Linked DNA regions of Homo sapiens: region 2 is linked to region 1. The links are contacts of gene promoters, found by promoter capture Hi-C in blood cells and fetal thymus (Javierre and others, 2016). All regions are on one chromosome and are shown on one strand. The core of a region is centred on a gene start or on the middle of the fragment in contact, and the rest is flanking DNA. Distances in the headings are between cores, read along the strand shown. Region 1 holds the start of CD40 (CD40 molecule). Region 2 overlaps LOC105372633 (a long non-coding RNA gene).

Evidence for each region. Contacts are between HindIII fragments. The CHiCAGO score rates a contact against its expected background, and 5 or more counts as called.
Region 2: a contact is called between a fragment that was not itself captured here and the fragment with the promoter of CD40 in region 1, in 1 of 17 cell types (endothelial precursors). The highest score is 5.2, in endothelial precursors.

Annotation. Positions count from the first base shown.
Region 1 is chr20:46,116,293-46,120,099 of GRCh38, reverse strand. It overlaps CD40 (CD40 molecule), which reads right to left and starts at 1,786. Exons shown (of 9, transcript NM_001250.6): 1 at 1,706-1,786. The coding sequence starts at 1,756. RefSeq lists enhancers at 564-913, 1,924-1,983, 1,749-2,565, a silencer at 1,788-2,007 and a cis regulatory region at 507-2,604. The HindIII fragment of the contact is 10,977 bases long and covers 1-3,807 here.
Region 2 is chr20:46,427,965-46,431,724 of GRCh38, reverse strand. All of the region lies in intron 2 of LOC105372633 (a long non-coding RNA gene), which reads right to left. Among named protein-coding and RNA genes, the nearest start is that of ELMO2, 23 kb to the right of the region's middle. The HindIII fragment of the contact is 956 bases long and covers 1,662-2,617 here.

The DNA of each region.
Region 1 (3,807 bases), core at 537-3,036:
GCAAATTACTTACAGAAATGTGTCTTACCCAAAATGGGAAAGGAAGTAGAAAAGGCTACTGCCCCCCACCAGCTCATTGCAAGACACCATCCTGTGAACGTGGAGCTCCCACACTCCCAAAGATAGGAAAGTCCTTGATACCATCTTCAAACACATGAGAAATAAAACGCTCCCCTAAAAGTCTGTCAATCTCCAGTTCTCACTCCCCATAGTTCTGGTCCTTCTGCCACAAAACAGCTCAGGACCAGAGCTTGGAGACTCTCACTATCTGAGAGGCAGGCTCGGGAATCATGCAGATGTAGATTCACAACCAGGTTCTTCCATTAGCTAGCTATGAGACCTTTGGCAAGACAATCCCCCTTTCTGAGCCTCAATTTGCCCATCTGTATAATGGGGGAGTTGTGAGAAATCAGACAAAGAAAACAGGCAGTGTTTGGCTCAGAGCCTGACACACAAGAAGCCCTCAATAGATAGCTTCTGACATTGTTGTCACAGCCCAGCCTCTACCTGGAGCCAAAGTTGGGAGTTATGAGGGCAAACTCTGCTCTTGAGAAGCCTGGATCACACCCTTCACCCCACCTCCTCTGGCTCTTTCTCCACTCCTACCACAAGGGCCCCCCTTTACCTCTTTCCAGCTCCGCCCTCCCCCTGCCTCCCTGTTCCCTAAGAGCCATTGCTTCAGGTGAAAGTGAAAGCTGTGGGACCAAAGCAGCCTCCCCACTCCCTCTCTTCCCTTGCTGCTTCCCTTGCTTTCCTTGATACCATGGGTCATTCCTGCCCAGGCTTCAGGCAGGAATCTACAGCCCTCTAAAGTAGGGGGAGGCCAGAGGGGCTGGGATGAAGGAGCCAGGTACTTGGGGGATTCCCAGCCTCCAGAATGAGGAACTACAAAAATACATTTAAACAAAAAGTGAGTCAAGTGTAGGCTTCTGAAAATCCCGGAGATATGCTTGGTTGGCTCTGAGCCCCTCTGGTGCCTGGAGAAACCCCTGGTTTCTCCAGCCCTCTGATCACCAGCCCTGTCAGAGCCAACCAGAACTCTGGTCTCCTAACCCTTTATTGTGTCCCATAAACTGTTCATCTCCCCAGGGGTCTCCTATGTCATCTTAAATTCAGGAGAAAAAGGCAAAGCCCTGGGGATTCCTCCTAGGTTGGAACACCCAAGATACGGTTCGGGGTGGAAGGCGATGTTAAAAGCTCCTTGCCTTCTCACAAAAGTACCTGGGCCTCTGCACCCATCTCTTGTTCCCACAAGATGCCCTGGAAGAAGGCAGCCCCAGCTGGCAAGGAGATGATAACTACTTACAGAGGCTGGCATCTGTCCACAATAAGAAGGGGACAGGAAACGGGCCAGACCCGCCCCTTCCCTTGGTCCGCCTCACTTCCCGCCCTCTGAACCCCCTACCAGTCTCTGTGTGGCCAGCCTCTGAGGCTCCCTAAACCCGTCCAGGCCGTCTAGGCACGCTTGGGCAGCCAGTGCCTTCCCTGAGCGGCCCCTGTAGGCCGCTCCCGGGACCCCAGCCCGGGAGAAGAGAGAGGCAGCCCACCCCATTCAGCCAGGAGCGGGGGCACCTTGCCCAGCTCCCACCCACCCTCCTGCCCCCACAAAAATCAGCCAGGAAGGCCTCTTCCCCGAAGTCTTCCTTCCCTTTCCTTCTCATTCCCCACTCCCAACTCCCGTCTGGTCGGGGCAAAAACAACTCACAGCGGTCAGCAAGCAGCCCCAGAGGACGCACTGCAGAGGCAGACGAACCATAGCGAGGTGAGACCAGGCGGCAGGACCACTGGGCGCCCGAGCGAGGCCTCTGCTGACTCCCCTGCCCCAGCCTTGGCCCCGCCCAGGAAAGGGGCGGGGTCTTCAAAGACCAATCGCGGTCCACCTATCGGGGGGGCGGAGCCCCCAGCAATTCACCGCGCAGGAGTTTCCCCAGAACATTCCCACAAGTCTAATTCCCCCGGGAGTTTAGGGACGCATCTTGCTGTGTACGGGAGGAGGCATGGTCCCAGAGACAGCTCTTCTTCTTTGCCCCCAGGTCCCACAAAGGCCAAGCCGAGGCGGGCTAGGAGCTAGCCTGCTTCCTGCGACCGGAGAGAGATCCCATGGGTGCTGGGGCCTGCCACAGGGACCCTCACGGTTTTCCCCTCCCTGCCCCGCTCTCCGCTGCCTCTAGGTATCCTGGCAGAACCGAAAGAGGCTCCACTGCGGAGAGGCCTGAGGAAGTTCCCCCCACACCACCACGCAGAAAACGGGAAGGCCACAGCTGGGGTATGGGGAGGCGTTTCAAGGAAGAGTTTCCCAACTCAGAATTTCGCTCTCTTTCAAAGGAAATTCCCTCGTGTGGGCGCGTCGTCTCAACTTCCCATCCATTCATCCATGCATCCATGCGTCCTCACCTCATTCCATTCCATCCCACCTCCCACCCAGCACCTGGAGACAGGCATTTATTAAGAGTGGGGCCGGGCGCGGTGGCTCACGCCTGTAATCCAGCACTTTAGGAGGCCGAGGCGGGCAGATCACTTGAGGTCAGGAGTTCGAGACCAACCTGGCCAACATAGTGAAACTCCGTCTCTACTAAAAATACAAAAATTAACCGGATGTAGTGGCGTTCGCCTGTAATCCCAGCTACTCGGGAGGCTGAGGCAGGAGAATCGCTTGAACCGCAGAGGCAGAGATTGCAATGAGCCGAGATCGTGCCACTGCACTCCAGCCTCGAAGGCAGAGCAAGACTCAGTCTCAAAAAAAAAAAAAATAAATAATAAATAAAAATAAAAATAAAGGTGGGGGCCAGGCGCGGTGGCTTACGCCTGTAATCTAACACTTTGGAAGGCCAAAAAGGGAGATTGCTTGAGGCCAGGAGTTCAAGACCAGCCTGGCAACATGGCAAGACCCCCATCTCTACAAAATAAAGAAATTTTTAAGTTAGCCAGGCATGGTGGCAAACACCTGTAGTCCCAGCTACTCAGGAGGCTGAGGCAGGAGGATCGCTTGAGCTCAAGAAGTCAAGGTTGCAGTGAGCCATGATTGCAATGATTACATCACTGCACTTCAGCCTGGGCGACAGTGCAAAACTCCATCTCAAAAAAAAAAAAAGAGTGGGCCAGCCTTTTGTGGCATCATAAAACACTTTAAGTATGTTAGGAAACTCGGGACCCTCTCATTTTGCAGAAACACACACACTTGTGCCTACATTTCCTGGGTTCATGAACTCTGAAGACGTGCTTTTGTTTTTTTGTTTTTTGTTTCGTTTTGTTTTTTGGGTGTTTGTTTGGTTTTTGGTTTTTGGGTTTTTTTTGACAGAGTCTCATTCTGTTGCCCAGGCTGGAGTGCAGTGGCATGATCTCGGCTCACTGCAACCTCTGCCTCCTGGGTTCAAGCAATTCTCCTGCCTCAGCCTCCCGAGTAGCTGGGATTACAGGCTGGCGCCACCACGCCCAGCTAATTTTTGTATTTTTAGTAGAGACGGGGTTTCTCCACGTTGGCCAGGCTGGTCTCAAACTCCTGACCTCAGGTGATCCGCCTGCCTTGGCCTCCCAAAGTGCTGAGATTACAGGCATGAGCCACCGCACCTGGCCCTCAAGATGTTCTTGAACCAGTGTTAACACTCTGCTTTGCAGCATGGAACACCTGGGTTCTGGTGCAGCCTCTGCCTCTGAAGGACTGTGTTCCCTTAGGCCTAAATTTTTCTCCAAGGAAAACTTAGGAGCTTGAACTAGACAACGGTTGAGGTGATGACCCTCCAAGCTCTCAATTTCTGGAAGAGGACAAGAGGCCAGACCTCACAGATCAGGGAGGATGGAAGAGGAGGA
Region 2 (3,760 bases), core at 890-3,389, 310 kb before region 1:
CCTCTCTTTGCATTTTTGATTTGTGTTTTGTTTCATTACTCCATTTGGCATTCTAGGTCAGGTTTCAACAGTGACTCTGCAATCCTTTGATTCATCTCTTGAAATTTTTAGTCTGAAAATGAGATTCTTTAGATCCAGAACATGTGTGTGTGTGCATGTGTGTGTGTGTGCATGTGTGTGTGTGCATGCGTGTGTGCGTGTGCATGCATGTGTGTATGTGTGCATGCATGTGTGTGCGCGTGTGTGCATGCGTGTGTGTATGCGTGCGTTTATGCACACTGTATTTGTGGTTCCTTACGTGTTGTTGTTATCATTGTTTTTGGTTCAGGCTGTCCTCTCTCTCCCCCAGAAGGTTTGTAGCTGTTGTTCTCTGCAATATGCTGGTTCTTTCACTTTCTCACTTCTGGGTCCCCCAGGATGGGTTGGTATTTTCCTTTGCTGACCCACTGGGGCCCATGTTCAGCTGCTGGGGATCTAGAGCAAGGCCAGTCTCTCGAGTAATGGATGTTGCAACAGTCTTTGACTTGCTGGGTCCGCTGGCAAGTGGTTGGTCCCAAAAGGTCTCCCTCTGCCCGCTAGTCTCTTCAGCTGCAAAGACTGGCATTTTCCCAGTTGAGGAGAGGATTTAGCACTTTTGTTCTCCCCCACAGCTTTGTATGAGCTGGAACAATGAGACCATAGAGTGCTCACGGGGGCAGCTGCAGCCTCTCCCTTGGGAGGTCCTTGGATTTCCGTAGGTCAAGTGTTCCCGATTTCACTTTTCTTCTGACCATTACTCCTGGGCTCTGCACCTCCAGTCCCCGGGCTGTCGTGGGGCTCAGAAGCAGAAACTTGCTCTGCCAACTCCCTTCTTCTGGACCCCAGAGATGCACTAGATCTCTAAACCCCAGAAGCTGCTTGGCTCACAAAAGGTTCAGTAGCTGGTTTTAAATTGAAGGATGAAGGCAGCACAGATGTATTCAACAACCATCCCCGCAGAATTCTCAGAGGAAATTCCACTATATTCTAAATGGCAGAAATGTGTTCACAGACCACAATGCAATAAAACTAGAAATCGCCAAAGAATAGCCAAACAAACAAAAACCTCATTACCAACAAAACCCCTATAGACATGAATATTCAAAACCTACTCTTTTAACTATCTATTGGGTTCAAAAGAAAAATTAAAGTAGAAATTATAAATTATTTCTAATGAATAACAATGAGGGCACAAAAAATAAAAAATCTGTGAACTATGACCGAAGAAGCATTCAAAGGAAGATATACAGGCATATCTCAGAGATAATGCAACTTCAGTATCAGACCACTACAATAAAGCTAATATTGCAATTAAGTGAGTCATATGAATTTTTTGGTTTCCCAGTGCATATAAAAGTTATGTTTCCTCTATACTGTCATCAATTAAGTGGGCAATAGCATTATGTCTATAAATGTACATACCTTAATTTTAAAATACTTTATTGCTAAAAAATATTGATGATCATCTGAGCTTTCAGTGAGTCGTAATCTTTTTGCTGGTGGGAGGGTCTTACCTCAGTGTTGATGGCTACTGACTGATGTGAGTGGTAGTTTGCTGAAGTTCGGGGTGACTGTGGCAATTTCTTAAAATAAAACAACAATGAAGTTGGCTGCATCAATCAACTCTTCCTTTCATGAAAGCTTTCTTTGTAGCATGTGATGCTGTTTGATAGCATTTATCCCACAGTAGAACGTTCAAAATTGGAGTCAATCCTCTCAAACCCTGCAGTTGCTTTATCAACTAAATTTATGTAATATTCTAAATCCTTTGTCGTCATTTTAACGATGTTGATAGACTCTTCCCCAGAAGTAGTTGCCATCTCAATAAATTGCTCTCTTTGAGCATTCATAAAAAGTAACTCCACACTCATTAAAGTCTTCTCATGAGATTGCAGCAGTTCAGGCACACCTTCAGGCTCCACTTCTAATTCTAGTTGTCTTGCTATTTCTATCACATCTGCAGTTACTTCCTCCACCGAAGCCTTGAGTCTCTCAAAGTTATCCATAAAAGTTGGAATCAACTTCTTCTAAATTATTATTAATGTTGATATTTTGACCTCTTCTCCTGAATCACAAGCATTCTTGATGTAATCTAGAATAGTAAGTTCTTTCTAGGAGGTTTTCAATGTATTTTTCCCAGACCTATCAGAGGAATTACTATTTATGGCAGCTATAGCCTTACAAAATGTATTTCTTAAATAATAAGACTTGAAAGTCAAAGTTACTCTTTGATCCATGGGCTACAGAATGGATACTGTGTTAGCAGGGATAGGAACAACATTTGTCTCCTTGTACATCTTCATCAGAGTTTCTGAGTGACCTGGTGTTTTGTCGATGAGCAGTAATATTTTGAAAGGAATCTTTTTTATTCTGAGCACAGTTCTCAACAGTGGGCTTAAAATAATCAGTAAACCTTGCTATAAGCAGATGTGCTGTCATCCAGGCTTTGTTGTTACATTTATGGAGCACAGGCCAAAGAGATGTAACATAATTCTAAAGGGCTCTAAGACTTGAGAAATGGGAAATATGCATTGGCTTCAACTTAAAGTCACCAACTACCTTAGCTACTAACAAGAGAGTCAGCCTATCATTTGAAGCTTTGAAGCCAAGCATTGACTTCTCTCTATCTGCGAAAGTCCTTAATGGCATCATCTCCCAATAGAAGGCTGTTTTGTCTACATTGAAGATCTGTTTTTTAGTGTAGCCACCTTCATCAGTGATCTTAGCTAGATCTTCTGGAGAACTTGCTGCAGCTTCTCCATCAGCACTTGCTGCTTCACTTTGCATTTTTATGCTATAGAGATGGCTTCTTTCCTTAACCCTCATAAACCAACCTCTGATAACTTCAAACTTTTCTTCTGCAGCTTCTTCACCTCTCTGTCTTCATAGAATTGAAGAGAGTTAGGGGCTTGCTCTGGATTCGGTTTCGGTTTATGGGAATGTTGCAGCTGGTTTGATCTTCTATCCAGACCACTCAAACTTTCTCTGTATCAGCAATAAGGCTCTTTTGTTTTCTTATCATTCATGTGTTCTGAATTAGCACTTTTAATTTCCTTCAAGAAGTTTTTCTTTGCATTCACCACTTGGCTGTTTGGTGCAAGATGCCTAGCTTTTGACCTTTCTTGGCTTTCAACATGCCTCCCTCACTAAGCTTAATCATTTCTCTTTTTTTAATTTTAACTTTTAATTTTTGTGGAGACATAGTAGTTATGTATATTTATGGGCTGCATAAGATATTTTGATACTAGCATACAATGTGTAATAATCACATCAGGATAAACCAGGTATCCATCACCTCAAGCATTTTTCCTTTGTGTTACAAACAATCCAATTGTACTCTTTGTTGCTTTTAAATGTACAATTAAATTATTATTGACTGTCATCACCCTGTTATGCTGTCAAATATCAGGTGTTACTCATTCTTTCTATTTTTTTGGACCCATTAACCATCCTCACTCCCCTACCCCTCTCCCAATTACCCTTCCCAGCCTCTGGTAACCATCCTTTGACTCTCTATCTCCATGAGTTCAATTCTTTTAATTTTTAGCTCCCACAAATAAGTGAGAAGATGCCAAGTTTGTCTTTCTGTTCCTGGCCTATTTCACTTAATGCACTGACTGCCAGTTCCATCTACGTCATTGCAAATGACAGGATCTCGTTCATTCTTATGACTGAATAGTACTCCATTGTATAAATCAACCACGTTTTCTTTATCAATTCATCGTTGATGGACACTAGGTTG